Linked DNA regions of Homo sapiens: region 1 is linked to region 2. The links are contacts of gene promoters, found by promoter capture Hi-C in blood cells and fetal thymus (Javierre and others, 2016). All regions are on one chromosome and are shown on one strand. The core of a region is centred on a gene start or on the middle of the fragment in contact, and the rest is flanking DNA. Distances in the headings are between cores, read along the strand shown. Region 1 overlaps LOC105369777 (a long non-coding RNA gene). Region 2 holds the start of HOXC12 (homeobox C12).

Region 1 (6,809 bases), core at 1,641-4,140, 250 kb before region 2:
AGGATTGAAGGGCTGTGTTGGGGACCTTTTGGCTCTTCCTTCTAAGGGCTCCTAGTCTGCCTCCCTCCAGGAGCTCTGGAGTGGTGGGTTTCTAGATGGGCAGAACCCATCAGTCCCATCTGCACCCTCCATTGCAGGTCCAGAATTATTCTGTAGCGGGTCAGTTCCTGACCCCTCTCTCCACATCTTTGTTTTTTTTTTTTTTTTTGAGACAGAGTCTCTCTCTGTCGCCCAGGCTGGAGTGCGGTGGCGCGATCTCAGCTCACACGGCAAGCTCCGCCTCCCGGGTTCACACCATTCTCCTGCCTCAGACTCCCGAGTAGCTGGGACTACAGGCACCCACCACCACACCTGCTAATTTTTTGTATTTTTAGTAGAGACGGGGTTTCACCGTGTTAGCCAGGATGGTCTCGATCTCCTGACCTCGTGATCTGCCCACCTTGGCCTCCCAAAGTGCTGGGATTACAGGCATGGGCCACCGTGCTTGGCCCACACCTTTGTTTTTATTTTAATTTTATTTTTTGAGACACGGTCTTGCTCTGTCAATCAGACTGGAGTGTAGTGGCTTGATTACGATTCACTGCAGCCTTGACCTCCTAGACTCAAGTGATCCTTCTGCCTTGGCCTCCCATGTAGCTGGGACACAGGTGCGCCCACCGTGCCTAGCTTTTTTTTTTTTTTTTTTTTTTTTGTACAGATGAGGTCTCATGTTGTTGCCCAAGCTGGTCTCGAACTCTTGGGCTCAAGCAATCCTCCCACCCTGGCCTCCCAAAGTGTTGGGATTACAGAAGTTAGCCACTGCGCTTAGCCTTTATTGAACTCCTGGCCTCAAGTGATCTTCCAGCTTCAGTCTCCCAAAATGCTGAGATTATAGGTGTGAGCCACTGTGCCCAACTCTTCCCACATATTTGAAGAAGGGTGTTTGTTTGTTTGTTTGTTTGTTTGTTTTTTGAGATGGAGTGTCGCTCTATTGCCCAGGCTGGAGTGTAGTGGTGTGGTCTTGGCTTACTGCAACCTCCGCCTCCTGGGTTCAGGCACTTCTCCTGCCTCTACCTCCTAAGTAGCTGGGATTACAGGTATGCACCAGTACGCATGGCTAATTTTTGTATTTTTAGTAGAGACGAGGTTTCACCATGTTTGCCAGGCTGGTCTCAAACTCCTGACCTCAGGTGATCTGCCCGCCTTGGCCTCCTAAAGTGCTGGGATTACAGGCGTGATGGCGCCCGGCCTGAAGAGGAGTTTTAAAAATGATTCAAGTTCACGTACGGAACATTATCATTGCATTTGGTTCTTTCCACACTTCTTTAAGGTAAAATGGTGGGCCAGAGGGAGTTTTACTTTTTTTTTGAGACGGCGTCTCGCTCTGTTGCCTAGGCTGGAGTGCGGTGGCATGATCTCGGCTCGCTGCAACCTCCGCCTCCCTGGTTCAAGCGATTCTCCTGCCTCAGCCTCCTGAGTAGCTGGGACAGGCATGTGCCACCACGTCCAGCTAATTTTTGTATTTTTAGTAGAGACAGGATTTCACCGTGTTAGCCATGATGGTCTCGATCTCCTGACCTCGTGATCCGCCCGCCTCGGCCTCCCAAAGTGCTGGGATTACAGGTGTGAGCCACCGTGCCCGGCTTTTTCTTCCTTTTAATGAATGAGGTCACTGAGGCTCTGTGGGGAGGTGTGCCCAGGGTCACCAGATGGAGAGCGGCAGATTAGGAACAGAATGGGGTTAGCCTGTGTCCTCTTCCAGTGCTCCTTCTGGGCCCTACTCCTTCCTGATCAGGTGCCCTCGGGGCTGGGGCTGCCGATTTGGCCTCTCACAGAAGGTGGGGCCCTGGGTTCCCTGTCCTCTGCATCAGCAACCCTGGGCCCCAGCTCTAAGCACGGGTGTGGTGGTGGGAGGTGGAACTGCCTGTCCTGCCTCTGCACGGCCACAAGGGGGCTCCAGGACCAGGTTTTTCTTTTTGCTGGAGCTGCAAGGGTTCCCAGTAATCCCAGCACCCTGAGCTTTTCTGGAAGTGCCGGTTATCCTTCTGAAGCTGCCACTGAAGGGTCTCTGCCAGGCTGGGAGGCCATCAGAAAGGGCGCAGCCTTTGCACTTTATAATCCTATTCCAGAAGTACCTCCCTTTGCTTGGCTAGGAAGTCCTTCCAGTTGTCTACCCTCCATTTCTACTGCTACAGGCCGGGAGAGATGAGGCTGAGTGAGCCACTCTTCTTTCTTTGCTTACTACTCCCCTACCCAAGGCTTGAAGGGAAGTACTTGTTCTTGTCCCCATTCCCTGATCATTAGAGCTCAGACTGCTCTCCTGTCACTGCTAAGGGCTGGATAGACAGCAGCAGGAAAGATGTAAGTTAGACATCAGGAAGGACTTCCTGACAGAGAAGGCCATGGGCTGCTGGGTTTGAGTATCTGAGGAAGGCTGAACAAAGGGAAGTTGGCTGTTCATCTGGGGTGAGGCTCTGGGAAAAGTCCTCTGTGCTCCACACCCCGAAGCTATACATCCCTGGAAGTGGGGAGTGGGGCCTGGGTACAGTTATTTGCTACTGTGTCTCTCCGAACCTCAGGGAACCACAGATATTGCTGGCTCCTTGGGCTTCTGGGATGGGGAGGAGATCTGCGTGGGGGCTTACAAAGGGGTGGAAAGGAAAACACCTGAGCCACTCCCTCCCTTGGCTGGTGACCCAAGGCAGAGGGAAGGATGACATGATGGAACAGTTTGCTGCATCTACTTCAGTTGGCTTTCAGAGCCCCTGTGAGGTCTTCAGCTTCTTAGGTTATCATCAACCTACTGGGCAAAGACTGAGTCATGCGGGTGGAGTGCTTCTTGCGGCAGGTGGGGTGCTTCTTGCGGCAGGAGATGACGCTGCGCAGGATATGAAGGAGTCTGGTCCCCTCTGTTTTCTGCACCTTGACTTTCCAAGTGGGACATGAAATGTCATTTGCCTCTTCTGTCTTCAATGCTGAGGGGACCCTGGGGTCAAGGGAAGAGCAGGCCTTTGGAGTCAGACCTTACCTGTTGGAGCCGCATGGCGGACCGCTCTGTCTCAATCCCCGCATCAGAAGGGAAGGGTGGAATAAGAAATCCTACTTCCCAGGGCTGTGGTGAGCTTTGGGAGACGGCAGATGTGAAAGGGCCTCTGGGGGGGGGGGAGCACAGCACAGCAGGTGCTCCCGCCCAGACTCCTTTGTTCCTGGAGAAGGGGAGATGTGTCCATTTCCCAGATTGGAACATGGTGGCAGGAATGATACTAAGGCTCAAGGCCAGGATCTCTGCTGGACATGCTCCAGAGTCAAAAGTTTGGCCTCCCGCTCCCCTGGCTCCTCCTGTTTCCTCCCCTCCCTCTTCCCACAAGGCCCTTCTCTGGCTCTACTTTCTACCCTGCATCCACCTCTTTTCTTACTTTTTTTTTTTATTCTCCCTTCCTTCTTTCTTCCCCTTTCTCCTTCAGCTCTATTTCCTATTTCCTCTGTTCCTTTACTTTCCTCTCTTCCTCCCTTCCTTCCTTCTTTATTTTTTATGAGACGGAGTCTCGCTCTGTTGCCCAGGCTGGAGTGCAGTGGTATGATCTCAGCTCACTGCAACCTCTGCCTCCTGGGTTCAAGCGATTCTCCTGCCTCAGCCTCCTGAGTAGCTGGGACTACAGGCGCCCACCACCACGCCCAGCTAATTTTTTGTATTTTTAGTAGTGACGGGGTTCCACCATGTTAGCCAGGATGGTCTCGATCTCCTGACCTCGTGATCCGCCCGCCTTGGCCTCCCAAAGTGCTGGGATTACAGGCGTGAGCAACCGCACCCAGCCCCTTCCTTCTTTTACTAAGCATTAAGTTAGGTGAAAGAGATGATCAAGAGCACTAATGCACGTGCTGTACCCCCGATCATCTCCTGAGTTGTTTTCTTCTCAGTCTTTCTTTCTGATCTCCCCACTAGGCTGATGCTTCTGTTCTGTGGGCCTGGGATGGGAAGGAAGTTGATAATAAAATCTGGTTCAATTAAATGTGTGCCTGTATTTGTGTGTATCCTGGGGAGACAGCTGAATAGCACATGGTGGTCCTTGCCCTTGAAGGACTTGTGGCTAGGGAGGGAGGCTGCGGTGTCAGCAGCAGTGTGACAAGTGCTGCCTCAGACGTTTGAATAGGTTGCTGGGATCTGACGAAGAACATCAGAAAAGGCTTCACAGAGGAGGTGATGGTTGAGATGGGTTTTAAGGGATGAGCTGGAGTTTGCCAGGTTCAGCAGTGGGTGGAGAAAAAGGCAGTCCTGTCAGAGGGATTACCACAGGCAAAGACATGTTGCTAAGAAAGGGCAAGGAGAATTTAGGGAACCGGCAGTAGTTCTGTATGGCTGAAGCCGAGGGAGTCATGGGAGACTGAAATCCCAACCCAGAAGGGGAGCAACGATGCCCAATGGTCAGCTCACTAGCCATGCGAGAGTGGTGCAGAACAGGGCATTGCTCCCTGCTAAATGAATGACAAGGGGCAGTGGGAGCTGGGGGTGTGGAGAGGTGTGCCCTGGGCCTTCATCTCCTCCCTACTTGCTGGCTATTCTGCTCTGGGAAACCTACATTAACTGATCCTGGGCCTCGGTTGCCTCATCTATAAAACGGGGATGGTGAAGCCTTATCTCCTGAAGATGGGTAAGACAGACCTGATTTCTTTAGGTGCCTTTCAGCATTGAGAGCTGTAGGATTATGATCACTTGGGGTTTGTGTGATCAGAGAAGCCTTCATGGAAGTGGAGGACTTGGTATCTGGCTTTAAATGATGGCTAGTCTGCGGCCGGGCGCAGTGGCTCATGCCTGAAATCCCAGCACTTTGGGAGGCCGAGGTGGGCGGATCACGAGATCAGGAGATCGAGACCATCCTGGCTAACACAGTGAAAACCCATCTGTACTAAAAATACAAAAAAAAAAAAAAAAAAAAAGTTAGCGAGGCGTGGTGGCGGGCGCCTGTAGTCCCAGCTACTGGGGAGGCTGAGACAGGAGAATGGTGTGAACTCAGGAGGCGGAGCTTGCAGTGAGTCAAGATTGCATCACTGCACTCCAGCCTGGGCAACAGAGCGAGACTCCACCTCAAAAAAAACAAAAAAGAAAAAGATGGCTAGGCCAGGCGCGGCGGCTCACGCCTGTAATCCCAGCACTTTGGGAGGCCGAGGCAAGTGGATCACGAGGTCAGGAGTTCAAGATCAGTCTGGCCAAGATGGTGAAACCCCATCTCTACTAAAAATACAAAAAATTAGCAGGGCGTGGTGGTGGGTGCCTGTAATCCCAGCTACTCGGGAGGCTGAGGCAGAGAATTGCTTGAAACCAGGAGGCAGAGGATGTAGTGAGCCGAGATCATACCATTGCACTCCAGCCTGGGCGACAAGAGTGGAACTCCGTCTCAAAAAAAAAAAAAAAAAAAAAATGGCTAATGTTGAGCGAAATTGAGAGGAGTGGGGAAGACTCGGGGGACCATGACAAAAGTTGGAGACAGGACAGTGCAGGGCATGTCTGGAGGATGATGTGTCCAGCCAACTTTTGGGGTTGAGGCTGGCTTTAAGGTAGGAGAGGACAGGAACACGCCTTGTGCTGTCAGGAGGTACGTGAGAGTCATGGACTCTGGTGCATGATCCCCTCCCTGCCCCCAAGCCTCTTGGGACCAGACTGAACTGGGAGCCAGAAACATGCAAATGAGATGCAAACAGCAGGTGACTCACACCCCTGCACCCACTGCCTGAGGCCTGTTTTGTGTGGGTTTGAGCCACAGGACAGAGGGTCCTGTACCCTTTACCTTCCCTGCCCGGGCTCTTCTTGCCTTACTGGCTAAGCCTGCTAGATTTTGGGGACACAGGCCTATCAGCTCTTTCCCTTCTCCAGGCCCAAGAGCTATTCCTTCCCCACCCCTCCCCTGCTAGAGCCCTCGCCCCTCCCATTCATCCCGGGAGGACTGGCTCGGTTCCTGTGGAAGCTTCCCAAAGCCCGCAGGAAGCGTCTGAATTTCTCTGACAGGGAGAGTGAAGAGCAGGTCAGAAAGATGACCTGAGACAGAGGGAGTGACTGGGATGGGGTCTTAGACAGGGGAGACCACAAGGTAAGGGACAGTCTGTTGAGAGGCCCAAGAAAAACAGAGATTTCCAGGGAAGTAGATAGATGCAAACCCAGTGAGCAAAAAGAGCCTGAGACCCTGAGAGACACATTCCAGCAGAGACCCTGAGTGACAGAGACAGACGGAGAGAGCCCTTCTCATGTGTCCAGCCTGGGACATGCTGTACCAGCGCCTCTGTCGGCTTTCTCTTGCCTGTCTGCCTGTCCCTGGCTGACGGTCCCTTTGTCTGTCTAGCTCTTTGTTTGTTTGTCTGTTTGCCTGTCTCCCTCCTGGTTGCCCCTTTCTTTCCCTTCTGCTGTCTATCTGTTGGTCCAGAATTCTCCGTCTGTCATTGCCCTCTGCCTGTCCACTATCTATGGAGAGCAAACTGCCCACTGGGATCGTGGGGCCCCTGTGTCCTTGCCTCCTGATCTTGGACAGGTTCTTGCTTTTCCTTCTCCTGATTTTGGGTCTCAATTTCCTCCTTTCTAAGGTGGCCCTACTTTCTGCCTCCTATCATGTTTATGAGCCTCAGGAGTGTGGAAAAGTGACTGTATTTATGGTTGCTCAGGCATCCTAACAAAGGGTTTAACGCATTTGAGGAACAATATTGCTCTTCAACCTTCTAAGGACAAAGCAAGAAGACAATAATGGCTGCAGCATGGAGCACAGTGGTTAGACATTCAGAGAGACTTCCTAAAAGGGCAGTGTGGAAAATATTAGAGAAGGCCTGCTAAGACGTTAAACAACCCC
Region 2 (7,188 bases), core at 3,506-6,005:
CTTACCAAAGGAAGGGGTAGGTGGAGGTGCAGAGGGTTCATGGGCACATCTGGACTCTACCACTGGCCTGGGCCTGGGCTTTCCTCTGGCATGGGCTAGAGGGAGTCGCTGGCTTCAAAAGGTGGAGCCTATTTTGCCAGTTCCAAGGGGTCTTTAGCCCCTTCTCAACATCTTGCAATACACAAGCGTCATCTCAGAGTGAAGCCATAGGATTAAGACCACACGGTTGAAGCTCTAGGCCCACCAACCCCCCTCCATCTCAGCCCCGGGATTATGGGTTACTCTTACTGCCCCAGTATCCAGCTCAGCTCACCAGTGCCCCTATCCTGGCTTCTATTTGTCAAGTTCCTGAAGCACAGACCTCCTTTTCTGAAGCTGGTTTCAACCTCCTTTAGGCTGTCCACATTATTTTTATGGCCCCATGACTTCTCAAAGCTCCCTCTCCTCCCCCAAGTCTGCCACCCCCCAATTTTCTCTCTGCTATAATTGCTTGGGACTGGAGATGGTAGCTCATCAACAGATCTTGGTTGCTTATGTATTTTTGTTGCCCCTGCAACCACTCTTCCTTCATTATTATTACACATTTATTATTTTTATTATTCACCTGAGCTGGAGAAAATAAAGTGGAGAACAGCTAAGAGGCTGGGACTCCCATTATTTTGGGGTAGAACTTTTGTTTTCAAAAAATCACATAATCATAATTCATGTTTTAATTATTATTATTATCAATATTAATATGATGAAGCAACTCTGTACAAGGACTATATAAAGGGAAAACGTGCTAAAGACAGACGTTGGAATAGGAGAATTACACTACAGAGAGCTGGGGAGGCAGCTAGGGGAAGGGCAACTATCCACAGGGACTACACTAGGTACCAGCGACAGACACAGAGAACAAGACACAGATTGACAGAGAACCTCACAGAAGTCAAGTTTAAAGCAAATGGAAAGAGAATATTGCATATCTTTGTCCCCTCACTCCTTTTAGAGTGTTCTGGTCCCTCTTCATTATTAGATTGGGAATCAGGTTAGTCTGGAGTGGTAGAGCTCAAATCCAGCACCCTAGAGCCCAGAGGTCACAGGAAGGGCTGCATAAAGGGGGTACAGTGGGTGACCAGTCAAGGTGGGGAGTGCTTCATGCCCAGGGGAAGACCACAGGAGACTGCAGACAGCTGGAATGGTGGTAATTTGGGGGAACTTGTACATGGGTGAAGCAAGTATGTGTGGATGGGGAATTGTCAGGTGTCAGATACCCAGCGGGGGATGGAGGCATGTGATTTTATCTCCATTCTGCTGGGCCATGTGGGGATTATGAGGCTGCCTGCTTGCGAGTGCACTAGGGAGAGTGGGGTGGGCCCAGTGCTGTGCTGGGCTCAGCTGTGTGTATGTGTTTGCCTTTGCCTCTGCCTGTACAGAAGCTGTGTGCTGGTGGGAGAGTAAAAAGCTCGGTGGATTGCCTTTGGAGAGTTTGTTAGGGGAGACTCTCCCCATATGGGAAACACTCCAAGCCAGCAGGCCAGTTTCACACTGTCCAGGCTGCAGTTAACTCCCATCAGTGCCCTGCTTCTCACCCCTCTTGCTCCTGGAAAGGGCCGGACAGCAGATGGGAGGCTGGGGGACTCTTGGGGAGAAGGATAAAAATGAAGTACAGAAAGGTTGATGGTTCTCTCACTGCTCCTCTCTTCCAAGCCAGCCCAGCGTCTACTGGGCTGGGGCTGGGGTCTGAAGGAGTCTGGATGAAAGTCCTTCCCACTCAGAGAAGCCATTCTCAGACCTCCAATGGGTTCTAGGGCTGTGCCCCTCCCTCTGCTCTGGTCCATGTGCTAGGCTGTGGAGGTTTGCAGGCCAGGAGGCGGAGGCAGCCCTTCTGAAGACAAAGGGCAATGTTGGGGGGCGGGCGAGGAAGAGAGAAGGGAGTTGGGTGGGGGGCTGGAGCGCCCCCCTCCTTCATTCTCACGGGCCTGGGAAACTGGGGCTGAGTGGGACCTCAATGGCTGGTAGCCCCTTTAAGGGTGAATTCTCCTCCCGCCTCGTAAATTACGCTGGTCCACCCTCTGGCCGGCCCGTGAGGCAGTGACCGTGAACGCCAGCGGGGAAGGGAGAATCAGAGGCCTCGGCTGTGGCTGTCAGAAATTCTCCCGGCCAATCAGTGTGGTGCTCCGTAGCCCCATCTACAGCCTCTTGCACTTTCTTTCTGGAGAGCCAGCTGGGGACCTCTGGGGTGGCTACTGAACCTGAGGCTGTGTCCCCTGGGCTCTCAGGTCCCTGCTTGCTGCATCAGGCCTGCAGCCACCGCAGGCAACGGAGGAGTGGATGGCAGCACACCTATGAACAGACATTCGCCCGGTGCGGGCAGCGGGATCAGGAGAGGGCTGGGGACCAGGACACTGTTCTGGTCCTAGAGGGAACATGAGGCTGATAGTCCTTGTCCACAGCCCGGCCAGCCAAATGCCCAAGCTTCTGCCCACTGGGTGTCCTGGGGGACCCAGACCCAAGCAGACTCTGGTTCTTGCTAATCATTTTCTCACAAACCACACTTCCTCCTTGGTTCCCCACTTCCTCCAGCCCTACCAGAGACACCTGACTCCCTCAGCTCTCTCCGCTGACCCTCCACCCTCCTCTCTCTTCCCAGCCTCTTCTAACCCCAGGAACTGTGAGGTTGAGGTGCCTTGGTTCCACTGGCCCTGCTCTTTGCTCCTGACGGCAAAGAGAATTAAGACCATGGAAGGGAAGTAGAGGAAGGGGACATCTGGGCCGCTGCTTCTCCAGATCCTCAGCGGAGGTGCAGTGCCCCAGTCCTGCCTCAAATAAACCAGCCCGCAGCACCTCAGCCTTCCTGCCCCTGCCAACCGCAGGCAGCTGCCGGCTTCTGCTCTCCCTGGCTAGGTTTCTTCCCTTCTCTCTGGGACCTGGCAGGGTGTTTTGGGTGTGTATGGGAGGGAACCACGAACAAAACAGACAAGAGGATATCCAGGGAGGGCCTGCCAGAGACGCCTGGCGTTCTAAGTGGGGACTGTGTTCTAGGCGGCGCCCTCTTTTGCTCTCTGCCAGGGACAGGCTCAGTCTGGGGCTGGCGCCCGTGTCCTGCACCTTAAAAGAAGGAGAGAGCTTGCTCCCTCAACAGAAGTCTTTTCTTTTTCATTCTCCGGTTCTGAAACCAGATCTTGACCTGCTGGTCACTAAGATTCAAGCGGTCTGAGAGTTCCCTCCGGCGCTGGCGTGTGATGAACTCGTTGACCAGAAACTCGCCCTCCAGCTCTGCCAGTTGCAACTTCGAATAGGGCTTGCGCTTCTTCCGAGAGCGGCTGTTGATCGGGTACCAGGGCGCGCCTGGGTGGAGATGAATGGCAGGGGTTGGCCAAAGGATCAAAGGGTGACCAGTCCAGTGCCCTTGGCCCTTCCCCAGACCCTTTCACCTTCGCCTCACAGCTGGACTCCAGGCCCTTTCTCTCCCTTCTCCTTGCCGCCAGTCATCTGAATCGTCTTTTCTACCCAGACCCACATCCCCACCAACTCCCCCACTTTCTTTACTCTTTTTTTTCCTTTCATTCTTTGCTCTTACCTCCTCAACCCTACCTCCTGCTGCACTATTCATGACCCTTCTAAGTCCCTATCCCCTCCTTTTTTCCCAAACCTCTCCCCAATTTTCTTCTTCCCTATTTCCTGGTCCCTTCCTCTCACATCCTTCAGGACTGGATCCCGGATCAGTTACAACAGATATGGGCGAATGGCAGAGTAAACGCATCCACTGGCATTTCTTTCGAAATGTAAGTAATGGGGTCTGTGGGAAGGTGGAGGGAGAGGCGCCTGGGAGAACTAGGGCCGGGCTTTCTGTCCCCACCTCCTCACCCCCAGGCCTGGGGAGTCCCCGTCAGGATCCCCCAACTCCGGAATCCCTGCCGCCTCCAGCCGCAGGCAGACGAAAAAGGAACACTCTCCATTTCTTTTGTGGGGATGTTTACATGTTTATAGGCTCCCCCCACCCGCACTTCATTTTATAAGAAGCTCTTCCTCGCCACACATTCTGTCACCCTGGGCGTCCCTAGCTCAGTCCTGTTCTGCCCGCCCTGGTAAGAGGTCGGGTTTGAATCCGCCGCTTGAGTGGCCGGGGTCCTTACCGCTGGCCGAGAGCCCGCCGCCGGGGTTCAACGGCGATACCAAGCTGCCGGGGTCGCCTGCGCCGGCGCCCTTGTTGCCCTCGTTGAGCAGGGACGAACTGGAGTCGGATTCCAGCGACTGGCAGGAGGGCGGGTCGTGCGGAGGTCCTGCGCCGCCGCCGCCGTCGCCACCGCCGCCGCCCGCCGCGTAGTCGTACTTGAAGCCGAGCGCAGGCGGCCCCGACGGCTCCAGCGGGAGCAGCGCTGCCCCGGGCCCGGCTCCCGGGTCGCGCCCGCGCTCCTCACGCTTCAGGCCCCCGCCGCCACCCTCGGCGCACGGCTCGCGGTAGTAACCCTTGCCGTCCTCCACGCGCGCCAGCTCGCACGTGCGGCCGAAGGGAGGGTTGAGAGACACTGGGCTGCCGAGGTAGGGCTGCGGGTAGCCATTGCACGGCTCCGCCGACGGCCAGGACAGGGAGCACACGTTGTCGCGGCGTGGGTAGGACAGCGAAGGCAGCCCGGGAAGCTGCGCCCCGGACGCGCGGAAGTTGGGGAAGTAGAAGGTGTCTCCCGTGTGGATGTTTACCAGCGGCCCCACAAACCCGGGATTCAGGAGATTATGCTCGCCCATTTCCGCGGGGCCCGACCGGCAGCTTCTACTTTATTGCTATCTGACATTAAACATAGTTAAATCTGCACCAGTCACCCATTGGCCGCCCCACTCACGTGGGCACGGCCGCCAGGGGGAGGGGTGGGGACAACCGATCCCCCCCCCCCACCATCCCATCCCGCACTCTAACTTCCCCCTTCCCCAATCCTGGGGGTGAGTGGGGTAACAAAGGGCGGGGGCAGGTTTATTTGCTGAACTGATTTTCTAAAACAATGTATATAACCTAACGCAGAGAGTAAAGCAATTGCCCAACACGGGGCAAAAGGGAAAAAACACACACCAAAAAATGCCCGCATATATACACCCCTATAACCTGCACCCCCCCCCATATATTATCTTATCGCCAACAGCTGGCCAAGCACAGCCTGTCCCTCTTTAATTAGCTTCTTTATTAACTAAAACCGTTGGAATTTACAATATCTCCTCAATAAATTACTATTAGATATTGTGTCATATAAAGTTTACTGACTGTTTAAGGAGACGGATGAGCCCTTTGGCTCGGGGTTTATTTACAGTAGAGGCGAAGTGGGGGTAAGGACAGGTTTCCCTGCCGTTATCTCTTCCCGCCCCAGCTGCTGCTGCACACTTCTTTATCAGCTCTTTATCCTCAGGAATTTGGAGAGACATTTGGAGTCCTCTTCCCCAATACTCAAGGATAATTGATAATGCCGGGTTTTCCTCTGGAGCCGGGAGCCACCCAGCCTCACACCTCCACTCACGGCTAGAGGAAGGATGCGGAAGGGAGGTAGAGAATGCAGCAAAAGGAGGTGCCTAGCTCCACATGGACCTGCCTGCCTGCTCCTGAAAATCTGGGGGCGAACTACTCTTCTGCTGTCATTTCCGGGGAACTGAGGAGCTTCTGGGGGCCTCCTGGAGTCTTTGCAGTGGGAAGCTTTGGACCCCTAACAGGGCTTGACTGGGCTGAGAGGGGCCTAATTCTCACTGCGGAGGAGACAACTGCACCCCAGAACCGGCCAAGCCTGCCCCTGGGACCATCAGATAGCAGTGCAGAGGCCCGCAGTAGGTTGCCTCCTGAGGGGGCTAGGATTGAGGGAAAAAACCCTTGAAGAATTATCTTATTGGGGGGTGAAATTATATTTATGGTGCAAACTCAGAAGCTCCCTCCAGAGAAGGCCGAGAAGCAATGCTGGCCATTGGTGAGATAATCAACATCTGCAAAACCACAATCCGATCTCAACTAGGTCCACAGAACACAGCCAAGCGGATTAAAAAGAAAGACAAAATAAAACTCCCCCAAACCAGATGTATCCTTTTGGGGTCTAATAGAAAAAACACTCGAATTTCCATGTGATTATTTCGAGCTTCTAACCAATGCATGGCTTAAGTAATACAGGGTTGGATAAATAGTTCAGTAAACGTCTAAATACGAAAAAATACCAGAAGATTGAAAGAAAATTGGAGACAGAGATTCGGAGAGAATGAGAAAGAAACCCATTTAGGTGAAAGTTAAATATCAGAGAAAGCCTGAGAATAAGCCAAAGCTGCAAAAGCAGATCGAAGCAGAGAAGATTCTCCCTTTTTTTCCTCTCCCTCCCCTCTCTCCTCTGCAGGACGCGGCAGAGAGAAACGCAGATTCTTTGAATTCCACCGCTCCCCGGGCGATTTCATATCCCAAACCGTAGCTGCTCACTCCGACAGAAATGTGTCCCCGCGGGCGCCGCCCTGCCCGGAGCAGTTCGAAGCTCGCAGCTCGGTGCCTGTCCCTTGCCCTGCTTGGCCGGTTCCCCTTCCCCGCCCCTGCTTGCCTAGCTGCCCGGCCTGGTCCAGCCCCTCCCGCCCCCAGGAGCCGGCCCCGCGTTAGGCGCACTTGTCGGAACTTAGGGCAAGCCATGGGCTGCAAACCCGAAGCCGCCACCTTCAGTTAGAGCCGGTGGCGCCAAGGAATGAGCAGGAGACTCAGCCTGGATTGGCCTTTTTGTGCCTAACTGATAAGGGGCTGGGAGGCTACGGAGAGGAGCATCTCTCAGCTGCAAATTCCAGGTCACAGCATCTGTAACATCTTATTTCCCCTTCTCAAGATACATTGATGAGCGCCATTGAAATTTTAGTTTTTAAAAAACATTTTATTTGAGGGTTAATTTGGTCATAAAGATAAACAGGGTGTGACATTAATATTGCTGTTGATTTCAATCAGAACATCGTGCGGGCAGCTAGGTCTGCGCCCAGGCTCTCCAGGCCTCTGCGCTCAGCCGCTATTGTTGGTGTGAGGGATGCCGAGCTGGGCTTTGCCAAATAATCACTAGCCTTTGAGGGGTGGAGTATTCTCCTCATTCTCTTTTCCCTTCCCAGATAATTCCAATCTCCTAGAAGAGGGACCCCAAGAGGAAGGTCTCAGCCTCTCCCCATTCCCTCCACCCCAGCAGGCAACTCCCAGGCCGGGAGCTCTGCTCGCTGCCCTCC

Evidence for each region. Contacts are between HindIII fragments. The CHiCAGO score rates a contact against its expected background, and 5 or more counts as called.
Region 1: a contact is called between a fragment that was not itself captured here and the fragment with the promoter of HOXC12 in region 2, in 2 of 17 cell types (naive B cells and total B cells). The highest score is 6.9, in naive B cells.

Annotation. Positions count from the first base shown.
Region 1 is chr12:54,196,616-54,203,424 of GRCh38, reverse strand. It overlaps LOC105369777 (a long non-coding RNA gene), which reads right to left. Exons shown (of 3, transcript XR_944984.2): 3 at 1,092-2,965. Among named protein-coding and RNA genes, the nearest start is that of SMUG1, 11 kb to the right of the region's middle. The HindIII fragment of the contact is 6,102 bases long and covers 1-5,941 here.
Region 2 is chr12:53,952,470-53,959,657 of GRCh38, reverse strand. It overlaps HOXC12 (homeobox C12), which reads right to left and starts at 4,755. Exons shown (of 2, transcript NM_173860.3): 1 at 4,119-4,755; 2 at 702-3,330. The coding sequence starts at 4,728. The coding sequence ends at 3,092. It overlaps LOC105369775 (a long non-coding RNA gene), which reads left to right and starts at 3,231. Exons shown (of 3, transcript XR_944977.2): 1 at 3,231-3,316; 2 at 3,691-3,767; 3 at 5,379-6,273. The HindIII fragment of the contact is 3,202 bases long and covers 2,460-5,661 here.